Linked DNA regions of Homo sapiens: region 2 is linked to region 1. Evidence: promoter capture Hi-C in 16 types of primary human blood cells and fetal thymus (Javierre and others, 2016). All regions are on one chromosome and are shown on one strand. The core of a region is centred on a gene start or on the middle of the fragment in contact, and the rest is flanking DNA. Distances in the headings are between cores, read along the strand shown. Region 1 holds the start of CTU1 (cytosolic thiouridylase subunit 1). Region 2 overlaps ZNF473 (zinc finger protein 473).

What was found. Contacts are between HindIII fragments. The CHiCAGO score rates a contact against its expected background, and 5 or more counts as called.
Region 2: a contact is called between a fragment that was not itself captured here and the fragment with the promoter of CTU1 in region 1, in 1 of 17 cell types (naive CD4 T cells). The highest score is 5.2, in naive CD4 T cells.

Annotation. Positions count from the first base shown.
Region 1 is chr19:51,105,084-51,111,877 of GRCh38, reverse strand. It overlaps CTU1 (cytosolic thiouridylase subunit 1), which reads left to right and starts at 3,469. Exons shown (of 3, transcript NM_145232.4): 1 at 3,469-3,531. RefSeq lists an enhancer at 3,174-3,503. The HindIII fragment of the contact is 4,633 bases long and covers 1,907-6,539 here.
Region 2 is chr19:50,027,732-50,033,818 of GRCh38, reverse strand. It overlaps ZNF473 (zinc finger protein 473), which reads right to left. Exons shown (of 5, transcript NM_015428.4): 2 at 2,728-2,927. The coding sequence starts at 2,736. Among named protein-coding and RNA genes, the nearest start is that of ZNF473, 4.8 kb to the right of the region's middle. The HindIII fragment of the contact is 2,086 bases long and covers 1,925-4,010 here.

The sequences.
Region 1 (6,794 bases), core at 2,220-4,719:
TGGGGAGCAGTGGGTGAGAAAAAGAGTCAGCGAAGTGATTCAGGATCCTCACCTAGAGGCTGAAGCATGCCAGTGCCACCACCAGGGGCTAACTGTGCAGGTCCGAGTCTCGGGATGCAGTGGAGATATGCAGGAAAGTGGGGAGGCATCAGGGCAGAGACGGAAGTTGCGGGAGTGGCAGGAGTGGATGAGCTCACCTGGGGAGTTTGCAGAGAAATGACAGCGCTGTGGAGTACAAGGCTCCTGGCAAGTTGATTGACATGGTTTGGCCAGAAAGAGGACCAGGGAGGGTAGATTTTGTGGTCAGGGCAAAGAGACTCAGAAGTAGGTAGAGCCCAGGTTAGACCTTTATTTGTCAATAAAGAGGCCACTGGTGTTGATCGGGAGACTGTGTTAGGGGAGACAGGAAAGAAACCAGACAGCAGAGGGCTGGGAGTGAGAGGGCTTCTCATGGCTGACCTCACCTCTTTTCCCATCTATCTCTGGAGCCCCAAATATCCCACTCTTATCCTGGTCCCACAGAGGAGAATGGGGAAACTCTATACACCCCGATTCAGCATGCACTCCCACATTGTTGCAGGACAGAGGCTGCCTCTGAGGAGGAGAACTAGACAGTGGGTGGGTGGGGGGAGACGACAGGGAGACTTCACTGTAGAGTCTATGCACTGTTTCCATTTTATAGCATTTAAGTGCATAACCTGATTAGATAACATAAATTGCATTCAAACAAAAGGCACCCTGTGCTTTCTTGCCACAAGATCTTTCTTTGCTCAGGCGATTTCTTCTGTATTAAAAGGCCATTTCGACCCTCAAATTCTCAACCTCCTTTGCCACACTTCACACCTCTTCCAGGAGCAAGCACAGCTTGGAGACTAAGGAGACAGGCTTTGAGCAAGGAGCTACAAACCAGAGACCACCAGCCAAATCGGGCCTGCTGCCTGTTTTTACATGGCCCACAAGCTACAAATGATTTTACATCTTTAAATGGTGTAAAATCTTCAAAATTCTTCAAAAGAAGAATATTTCCTGACACATGCAAATTACATGAAATTCAAATGTCAGTGTCCATCAATAAAGTTTTATTGGTATACAGCCACCCTCACTTGCTTATCTTATATCAATGGCTGCTTTCAACATACAACAGCAGAGTTGCCACAAAGACCCTGTGGCCCACAAAGCCTAAAATATTGGCTACCTGGCCCTTTACAGGAAAGGTTTGCAACCCCTGCTGTAGAGTCAGGCAGTCCAGGGAAGTGACATCACTGAGCTTCAAGATCCTCACCTAAGTAGAATTACAAGGCTGGGCATGCTGACTCACACCTGTAATCCCAGCACTTTGGGATCACTTGAGGTCAGGAGTTTGAGACCAGCCTGGCCACTATGGTGAAACACCGTCTCTACTGAAAATACTAACATTAGCCAGGTGTGGTAGCGCACCTGTAATTCCAGCTACCCAGCAGGCTGAAGCAGGAGAATCACTTGAATCCAGAAGGTGGAGGTTGCAGTGAGCCGAGATCGCGCCACTGCACTCCAGCCTGGGTGACATAGTGAGACTCCATCTCAAAAAAAAAAAAAAAAAAAGAAGAAGAAGAATTACAGTTGTACCCAACTCATATGTAACATATAATCTTAATGTTATGAGAATTGAGATGAGAATAATAACCACTTGTTGAGCACATACTATGTGCCAGAAGCTGTTCTAAATTCTTTAGAGGTGTTGTTAATTCAATTTGACTTCGCATAAATCCTATGAGGCAGGCTATTATTGCCCCCCTTTCACAGATGAACAAACTGAGATGATGCATGGCACATAGCAGCCTTTGTTGAATTTTTTTTTTTTCTGACACCCTGGCTGGCAGTGATTGAAATTGAGCTTTCAAGGCTCTTAACACTTCCATGTCAAGCTTTATCACTCCATATTGACTAAGTCCCTGTCTCCCCCACCAGGAGGACAGGGTGGTGGTGTAAGGGGTGGGGGATGCTCAGAGGACAGTAACCAAGTCTGATTCATTTGTGTCACCTAAACCTAGCCCAGGGGCAGCCTGGCACAAGGAGACCTCAGGAAATAAATTCAACAAATGAACCAACGCACACAGATGAACAGAACTGGCCCATGATAAGGCTTAAGAGTGACCTCACGGAGCTCATTTAATATGAAAGGAAGGCATCATGGTTTCCTGTTATGGGGGAAAAAAATGGGCTACAGGGTGCATGGGGTTCCTTCTCACGTCATCACCGGCCGTAGACCTACACATCCTGGGGCTCTCTGCACATCTCCACATCTCAGTCTAAGGCTCTGGTGGTCCCTTAATCTAGAGGATTTTTTTTTTTTTTTTGAGACAGAGTCTCACTCTGTGGCCAGGCTGGAGTGCAGTGGCGCGATCTCGGCTCACTGCAACCTCTGCCTTCTGGGTTCAAGCCATTCTCCTGCCTCAGCCTCCCGAGTAGCTGGGACTACAGGCGCGCACCACTACGCCCAGCTAATTTTTGTATTTTTAGTAGAGATGAGGTTTCACCATGTTGGCCAGGATGGTCTCCATCTTTTGACCTCGTGATCCACCCGCCTCGGCCTCCCAAAGTGCTGGGATTACAGGTGTAAGCCACCGCGCCGTCTAGAGGAATTTTGAGCCTCAGTTTTTTCGAGGACCTAGGTTTGGGGACCTGGATCTCAAGGGTCTCAGATATCTGAGTCCTTAAACTCCTTGTGCCCCGGTATTTGAGTCACCGGGGTCTTCAAGACCCTTGGGCCTTGTGGGGAGGGTGGAGGCCTCCAGATCCCTGTGTCTAGGGTGCAGACGGTTGTCTCCAGGTCTACTGGTTCTCTCAGGTGCTTTGGTGCCAGGGGTCTGCGTTTTTAACCCCCTTAGTCTCAAGGGTCTGAGTCTCTGAGCCTCTGGGCTCCTGGGTTAGGTGAGAAGGGTCTTTGGATCCTTCTGTTTAGAGTCTGGGTCTCCAGCACGCGCATCACGACAGCCCCCGCGTGCGCGCGGAGTTCCACTCCAATCCTCGAAGTCTGCTCTACGCATGCGCTATCTGCGCCTTTTACACTAGCGACCAACCCCTGCAGTTCCACCTTCAATTCCCACCCGCAACCCCGCCTCAAAGGGCAGAAATCATAGGCCCTGTAATCCCCTTAAAATCCTATAATAATCCCACAAAATCAGTTAATCAGAATACAACTACTTCGCCCATCCAGCAACCTGCCGGGTGACAGCGCGCTGCCATGACAACAGTACACGCAGCTCCGCCGCTCCCTGCGGCCGCGCGCAGGCGCAGAAAGTAAACGCGGGGGGAGGGGGAGCAGTGTATTTTGGGAGCGGCAGAAAGAGCAATGCAAGTGTTTCTGGGAGTTGTAGGCCAAGCGGGACCCCGGAGCCGTAGGCGCATCCAGCGGAAGTGTCGCATGGGCTTCTGGGAGTTCTAGGCAAGAAAGCCCCAAGACCTTATGGGAGTGGTAGTCTCGGAGTCACTTCCGGGCCAGGCTTCCGCGTGGTGGGCAGTGTGGGCATCCCAGCACTGAGTTCTGCCCGGGTGAGTATTTCCTCCTGCGGTGGGTCGGCATGTGGACTCCGGCTCTTTGTTGCGGTGCCGTGGGAGGGTTGAGGGTCTCTTCGAGCGTAAGGCCTCTGTGATTTCCCAGCGCCCGTGTCCCTGAGGCCTTGTAGCCAGGATTCCCACTTTGAACGCTGCGGTCCGGCCTGTCTCTTACCGGGCCACTCCCTTCCCCAAGACAGGATAAGACCATCTGCTTGCCCCCGCCCCTATGTTACTATCTGCCTGTCCCCGCCCCCATGCCACACATTATCTGTCCTTTTGACAAGGCTGCAATCCAGAGGCATCCCTGGGGTCCGCGGCCTCTCTTCTGGGAGCACTTATTATTCCCTCATCCTACAGATACTTACTGAGCACCGACTCTGCGCAGGGCGGCGGGAGCGAGGGCACCAGACCAACCCTGTCCCTGCCTTGAAGCAGAGAGACAGACCTGTCACCAGTGACAGCTAGTCAGGATCAGGGCAGCTCTGAGGGCCCTGGTGGAGGCGCTCGACTCAGTGACGAGGGTCCATAAAGTCTTTGAGGGAAGACGCTTAACATGCATGTCAAACCTGACGTGGCCAAATGGAATTCCTGGTCTTCTCACCTCACAAAATGGCCCCACCGTCCCTCCAATGCTCAGGCCAGAACCTCAAAGTTACCCTTCATCACTTTCTCTCGTCGTTGCCCCAGTCCCCACTCCAATCAGTCTTATACAAGTCCTGTGGGCTCCACCTTCAAAATAGATCCAAAATTTCACTTCTTCCCACCTCTACTGCCAGCACTCCTGTCTAGTGTGCTGACCTCCAGCCTTCTGTCCTTGTCCCTGACAACCAACAGTCCTCCCCACACAGCAGCCAAACGAATCCCACTTTTTTTATTTGAGACAAGGTCTCACTCTATCACCCACGCTGGAGTGCACTGGTGCGATCATGGCTCACTGCAGCCTTGACCTCCTGGGCTCAAGTGATCCTCCTGCCTTGGCTTCCTGAGTAGCTGGTACTACAGGCCTGTGCCACCAGGTGCAGCTAATTTATTTATTTATTTTTTTAGAGATGGGGTCTCGCTATGTTGACCAGTCTAGGAATCCTTTTAAAACATGCCAGATCATACCACTTTACTGTTCAAAAACCTCCCAAGGCTCCCATCTCCTCCTGAATAAACCTAAAATTCCACATCATGGCCTATGAGGCTCTGCTAACTTGTGCAGCCTTGTCCCCTGCGAGCGTCTCCCTTCCTCAGGACGTGGACCCCCCAGGACTGGGTGACTGTAGATTTAGGGGGTGAGGAGAGATGAGTCCAGGGTGACGTTACGTCCTGTCCTGCAGATGGGCTGGATGAAAGGTGGTGGCTGCTCTCAGAAGAGAGGGAACAGATGGGCAAGAACAGGTTTCTGCCTTTCGAGGAAGAAATAGGTTGTCTGGGCGCTTAGGGTCTGAACATCTTTAAGGTGCCCCAGCCATGTGGAGGACCAGCCAGGAGGGACATCTGAATATCATGATTCAGAGGCGCTCATAAGAATGGAAAGAAGCTGGGCACAGTGGCTTACGCCTGTAATCCCAGCACTTTGGGAGGCCGAGGCGGGCGGATCACTTGAGGTCAGGAGTTCAAGACCAGCCTGGCCAACATGGTGAAACCGCATCTCTACTAAAAATACAAAAAAAAAAAAAAAAATTAGCCAGGCATGGTGGTACACGCCTGTAGTCCCAGTTACTCGGGTGGCTAAGGCAGGAGAAACGCTTGACCCTGGGAGGCAGAGGTTACAGTGAGCCGAGATTGTGCCACTGCATTCCACCTGGGTAACAGAGCCAGACTCCATCTCAAAAAATTAAATTAAATTAAATTAAAAATCTTTAAAAAATGGAAAGAGATGGGTGCTAGGCAGGACCTGAGGACATGAAGAGGCGTCCCCAAAAGAGAATTGAGCAGGAAATCCAGGAGCACAGAAGGAGTGAGTCAAAAGTCGGGGGAAGAAAGATTCCAAGAGTTGCTGCTCACCTGTGACAGATGTTCCCGACGGTCACTGCAGATGAGTCCTAAGGGCTGCTTCTTGGGCTCAGTGGCAGGAAGAGTACTCAGGGCAGAGGGGAGAGCCAGTGCAAACATCTGGAGCAGGAGTATTCCTCAGGTGTCAGAGTAAACGACATCAAGGCTGAAGGAGAGGAGGTTGGAGAAACAAGGAGCCACACATGTAGGGCCTCATCGGCCATTAGCAGTTATTATACTAAAGTGAGATGGGATCCAGGGGAGGATGCTGAGAAGATTCAGGGCATGATCCCACTGGCTGTTATGTGAAGGAGTGTTTGTAGAGGAGGCAAGGCGGGAGCAGGAGACCTGTGGGGAGCCCCATGCAGCCGTCCAGGAGAGAGACAGACCAGACTAGGGTGCTGCCGTGGAGACGGTCCTAAGTGTTTGGCTGTTTTGAAACTACATTCAAACAGGATTTGCTAAATTTCATTTAGGTACCTGGAGTTTGAAAAGGTCCGGACTTGGCATTGCAGTTTGGTGCCACCCACTGGGAGCATGACAAGTGCAGTGAGAGAAAGAGCAGTCCAGGGTCCTGGACCCCAAAGCTCCTGGCCTGAGCAGCTAGAAGGATGGAGCTGCCCTGTACTCCAGGAGAAGCACGCTGGGTTAGAAGAATCAGGAATTTGGGTTTTGAGATGCCTATTAGACATCTGAGTGGTACTGGTCTCTGCCCTCATAGAAGTTAGAGATGGTAAATATATAGTCACATAAAATAATTCCACACATTGTGGTAAATCCTAGAAGCAGCGTGACCTGCTCTGAATGGCAAGGAGGTGACTACAGTAGTCCAGGCTGGAGGTGATGGTGGCTTGGGGAGGAGAACTGAGCCTGGGGAGTTTTTATGGGTTCACCAGGCAGGCAGGACCAGGATTTGACTGGAGGGTTGGAGTCTAGGCTGGGTGGGGAAGAATGAAGTAGGAAAGATAACAGATGAAGGTCAAAGATGGGCCGATCCATGTCTTGGTGAGAGCACAGAAGCTTGTGGGGCATTCTGATACCAGAGCAGGGTTGAGTTCAATCTTGGAGGCCCACCCATTTTCTCACCCTCAAAATGTGTGCAACCCCAGCTGGTCTCCTGAGAGGTGTGATCCAGGCTGCCTGTGTTCCCTGGAGAAGGTGATCACCCTGCCTTTCATAGGATGCAATCAGAACCCATTCCTGGAGACCGTATCCCACCCTACAAAGTGCAATCAGTTGGCCTTTCCTGTTTTCCACCTCCCGCTGCACAGAGCTTC
Region 2 (6,087 bases), core at 1,718-4,217, 1.1 Mb after region 1:
TGCCATGACAGAAGCAGAGATTAGAGTGATGCGGCCAGGAGCCAATGAATATAGGCAGCCTCCAGAAGCTGGGAGAGGCAAGGACTGAATTCTTCCCTAGGGCCTCCAGAAGGAACGCACCCTGCTGACACCTTGGTTTGAGCCCCGTGAGATCATTTTGGGATTCAGACCTGAAGAACTGTAAAAGAATAAATTTGTGTTGTTTTTAAGCCCACAAGTTTGTATTATTTGTTACAGCAGCAGTAAGACCCTGAAACAGTCGTCCCAGTGGTGATGCTAAGCAGGAATTGGGTGGACGAGCAAGGGGGATCCTGTTTCCGCTTACAACAAATCCTGTCCCTCCTCTGCTCCAAACCCTCCAACGGCCTCCGGATTCACCATATTTAAAGACAGAGACCATACAATGATCTCCAGGGCCCTAAAGATCTGGCCCCAGCTGCCACTCAGGGCTCACCTTCTCCCCCTTTCCTGCTCATCCACTCTGCTCCAGCCACACCAGCTTCCTTGCAGCTCCCTGAACACACCTGCCAGACCCCATCTTAGAGCCAAGATTGTGTCCCTCAGTTCTCTGCTGAAATGCCTCTTCTCCATGAAGCCTTCTCCCACCCCTCTGTATAAAACAGCAAATCTACCCTGGGCCTCCCTATCCCTTTCCTCCATAATCCTTAATACTGCCTGCATTCTATGGGATTTACTTAATGCATTTTACTGTGTGGTATGGGTTGAACTGTAACCCTCTAAAAAGATACAATGAAGTTCTAACCCCCAGTACCTCAGAATTTGCCCTTATTTGGAAATGGGGTCTTTACAGAGGTGATCAAGCTGAGATGAGGTCATCAGGGTGGGTCCTAATCCAAAACGACTGAAGTTGTTATAAAAAGGAGAAATGGGGACACAAAGACAAACACAGGCTGAGGGAAGACAATGTGAAGATACAGGGAGGACATCCTGTGAAGATGAAGGCAGAGATTGAGGTGATGCCTCTCCAGGCCGAGGAACACCAAAGCTGGCCACCATCTGCCAGAACACAGGGGAGAGGCCTGGCTCACAGCCTCAGAAGGATCCAGCCCTGCCAACACCCTGATCTTAGACTTCTGGCCTCCAAGACTGGGAGACCACCAATTTCTGTTGTTTTCAGCCACCCAGTGTGTGGTACTTTGTTACAGCAGCCCTAGCAAGCTCATACACTGTCACCCGCAATAAAGTAAGCTTCATGAGGGCAGGAACCACCTAAACCGTTTCCCTAGTCCAGACTTACAACAAAGCCCACTCATGACAGGCACAGAGTAAATACTTGTTGAATGAGGCAAAGCAGCACATGGTCCTGATAGCTGTTTTGGGACAAGGGAAGGAGCTCATGAAGGATGGAACCCATACTAAGTGAGGTTCAAGATGGGGACAATAAACTGAGTCCCAGTCACACCTGCAGATCATGACAGCCCTACCTCTGGACTTTTGGTTATATAATTAATAGTCTCCTGACTGCGTAAGTCAATTTCTGGTACTTATAACAGAAACTGTTGCTGTCTATATCCTGTCAAGAGTAGCAGCCAAGCAGGAGCCAGATCAAAGAGGACCTTTGAGGGGCTTCCTTTCCTCACACTCCCAGACTGCGCTGGACAAGGCCCCTGTCACAGTGATGAAGGAGGTGGGAAGACGGGGCAGACTAGATCCTTGAGGCACTGGGGAGCCACAGGAAAGTGACAAGGTCAGAGCACATATTTGGCAATCATTTACCCTGTGTGCTAGACCACATTGTGGGCACTGGGGACATGGACGTGTGTCAGACCTGTTTCCTGGCCTCATGGAGCTCATGGTCTGACGGAGAGACACGAGGGAGGTAGGACTGTGGCAAAGGGAGGTATCGGGGACTGTGTGGGCCAAGGGGGAGAGGGAGGCCATTGCCTTGAGGTCAGGGAAAGCTTCCTGGAGGGAAGGTCATTCAAGTTGGATCACTAAGGATGAACAGATATTTACCAGATAGAGAGATGGTTTCATGCATCATTCATTGATTCATTCATTCATTCAACTAACACCTCATGAGGCTTCCTGTGTTCCTGGCCTGTGCTGGGCCCTGGGGACCCAGAGATGAATCCCCATCAGTTCCTGTCCCCAAGGAGCATCTAGTCTGGTGGGGCTGACAGATATGGGCAGGAACATCCATATCTAGGTGGATCTGTGCTACAGTGGAGGCAGCAGGGGGTACTATGGAAGGCTAGAGCAGGAAAGTGCTGACTGCCTAGGGAAGGGTGGGGGAACTGAGCCGGGTCTTAAAGGCTGTGTGAGACACTACCACATGGAAAAGGGGCAGGGAATTCCAGCAGAGGGCCCAACCTGAGCAAAGGAAGCTGCTGGAAAGTACAGAATCAACTTTTACTACTAGGCCAAAGGGAGTATTTGTTATCTAGAGAAATGACAGAAGATGGTGCAAAGAGGGTAGAAGCCAGAACACACAGGAAGGCTGAAAAACCTGGAATTTATTCTATAAGCAATAGGGGTTCCCAGAAGAGTACAAACAGGAAAGAACAGCATGCGAGCTTTCCTTTAAAAAAGATCGCCTGGGAGCCACCATGGGACAGGGAGGCCAAAACAAAGGAAGGCCAGCTTTCCTGCCATGGGGGTGACCAATCAACACAGAGCGACCTTCAACTCGCCTCGGCCACAAAGGAAGGCCAATTTTTCTGCCTTTGGGTGTGACCGATTAGGACAGAGCGACCTTCAACTCACCTCAGCCATGGCCAACTGGGGTTCAGTAGCCTCTTTTAAGCTCCTCCTCCTTCCCCTCCGTGTTCCCGGCTGGCAGGGCTGTGGGAAGCACAAGGGAGCTGTGAGAAAGCCTCCCTTCCACCCATGGCTGACTCGCTGTCCATGCTGACGAGCCCCCAAAATGTCCAGGAGGAGGAGGACAAGTCCCAATGTGAGTCTCCCTGCAGGGGACAACAACAACTATATTTACTGAAGCCACCTCAGCCCCACATTTGCACTGTGCTTCAGAACCTACAGAACAGCTTCGCCACCAACAATGGTGGGTTAGCACCTAACAGTCAGTCAGCACATGTTTAGGAGATTTGGTGATGAAAGTCTATGGCCACAGTGGGAGCTTCTGTCTTGCTCACTGCTGTGTCTTAGCACCAGCATGGTGCCTAGTACGCAGTAGGTGCTTTAACAGTAGGTGTAAAAGTACCTACAGTTGTTGACAGAACGAAGGTGTCTAAAGAACCAATGGAACAATGCTTCTGGGATTTCTGATTATCATCTCTGGAATTTGAGTTCAGGTAAATTGGCCTCCGAAACTGTTACTCTTTTTTGGAGACACGGTCTTGCTCTGTTGCCAGGCTGGAGTACTACAGTGGCACAATCATGGGCCACTGCAGCTGTAATTTCCTGGGCTTAAGCAATCCTCCAACCTCAGCCTCTCAAGCAGCTGGGACTACAAGCATGTGCCACCACATCCAGCTAATCTTTTTCACTTTTTGTAGGGACAGGATCTCACTTGTTGCCCAAGTTGTTCTCAAACTCCTGACCTCAAGTAAGCCGCCCTCGTGGGCCACCCAAAGTGCTGGGATTACAGTTGTGAGCCACCGCACCTGGCCACTATCTCTACAACAGAAATATTTCAACTTTTGTTTTAACCGTGACCCACAGTAACACCACCAATATGTAGAATAGGCCAGGCACAGTAGCTCACGCCTGTAATCTCAGTACTTTGGGAGGCCGAGGTGGGCAGATTACTTGAGGTCAGGAGTTCAAGACCAGCCTGGCCAATATGCTGAAACCCCGTCTGTACTAAGAATACAAAAATTAGCTGGGCTTGGTGGGACGTGCCTGTGATCCCAGCTACTCGGAAGGCTGAGGCAAAGAATCACTTGAACCCGGGAGGCAGAGGCTGCAGTGAACCGAGATGGTGCCACCGCACTCCAGCCTGGGCAACACAGTGAGACTCCATCTCAAAAAAGAAAAAAAAAAAGTATCATGACTACTCAAACACACAGTGTAACTAAACAAAAGCTTCATGAAGCAATACTTACCCTGCAATGTAAGATGCACTGGGATGTTTTCTATTCTAGTCTCTTTTATTCTACTTCATTAAAAAATCATAGTCACTGCCCACCTAGTTATTTTCATGACCCATAATACGCAAAACTGTACCACAGACATTTTTACCCATTTGTATCCACTGCGTGGACCAAGTAGCACATATCTGCGGAGTGCTGAAAGCATTTCATATCACAAAGCAGCACGGATCACTTAACAATGACACAGGTCCACAAATTCTTCAAACTCCAAGGCCAGATGTGCTTTGAAATTCAACTTTTATTTTCAAAAGGTGATATGGCATATACATGGCATATTTCATTAAAATCCCAGTGCAGGGCTGGCCGCAGTGGCTCATGCCTGTAATCCCAGCACTTTGGGAGGCCAAGGCAGGCGGATCACGAGGTCAGGAGATCCAGACCATCCTGGCTAACGCGGTGAAACCCCGTCTCTACTAAAAATACAATAACAAAATTAGCCAGGCATGGTGGTGGGCGCCTGTAGTCCCAGTTACTCAGGAGGCTGAGGCGAGAGAATGGTGTGAACCCGGGAGGTGGAGCTTGCAGTGAGCCGAGATGGCGCCATGCACTCCAGCCTGGGCGACAGAGCGAGACTCCGTCTCAAAAACAAAAACAAAAACAAAACAAAACAAAGTCCCAGCGCAGTGTGGATCAGGCTGCATTTCATAATTGAACACTTTACCCTAGAGAAAAGTATCATCGTTCATTCTAGGTAGAATAATTTAAAGTTATATTTAAAAAATACCCTGTAGTAGTTCAGGTAAGGCACGGACACTAAATTTATGAAAAAAAATTTGTTGTTCTGAGTTGTCCAGATTTTTGAGACTACAAATATGGGAATATGGTAGACCTACAATAAATGCTAATTCTACTGAACAATGAGTTTTTCTACATGTCAGAGGTTAAGCCTCAACCTACGAGTATAACTCAGTTGACAGATATTTGGCCCATAATGTTTGTTGGCAGACAGAATGTTTTGAAAGAAAATTCAAGCATGGCTCACTAGTCTCAAACTTGAAAATTGGGAAATTTCACCTAAAAATTATGTTTCCAACTTCTGAAACATCCTAGGATTTGGCAACATTGGGTCTACATCCCACGAAGTTAGTTCACTGGTGCCCATTTAAAGCTCCCCCACCAGTGCTAGGCAAGTGGGGGATGCTTATAATCCCAGCACTTTGGGAGGCTGAAAGGTGTTCGAGACCAGCCTGGGCAACGTAACAAGACCTTGTTTCTAAAAAAAAAAAATTAAAAATGAGCAAGTTGTGGTGGCACGTGCCTGTAGTCCCAACTACTTGGGAGACTGAGGTAGGAGGATCGCTTGGGAGGCTGAGGTAGGAGGATCACTTGAGCCCAGGAGTTCAAGGCTGCAGTGAGCTATGATTGTGTCACTGTACTCCAGCCTGAATGACAGAGAAAGATCCTGCCTCCAAAAAAAAATTAAATTTGTTTTTTTTTTTTTTTTTGAGACGGAGTCTCGTTCTGTCGCCCAGGCTGGAGTGCAGTGGCGCGATCTCAGCTCGCTGCAAGCTCTGCCTCCCGGGCTCATGCCATTCTCCTGCCTCAGCCTCCTGAGTAGCTGGGACTACAAGCGCCTGCCACCACGCCCGGAGAATTTTTTGTATTTTTAGTAGAGACGGAGTTTCACCGTGTTAGCCAGGATGGTCTCGATCTCCTGACCTCGTGATCCACCCACCTCGGCCTTCCAAAGTGCTGGGATTACAGGCATGAGCCACCACACCCGGCCAAAAAAATTAAATTTAAGTTTAAAAAGCGGCTGGGTGCAGTGGCTCATGCCTGCCATCCCAGCACTTTGGGAGGCCAAGGCAGGCGGATCACCTGAAGTTTGGAGTCCAAGACCAGCCTGATCAACATGGTGAAACCCCCGTATCTACCAAAAATACAGAAATTAGCCAGGCATGGTGGTGCACGCCTGTAATTCCAGCTGCTTGGGAGGCTGAGGCAGGAGAATCGCTTCAACCGGGGAGGTGGAGGTTCCAGTGAGACCGAACTCCAGCCTGGGTGACAGAGC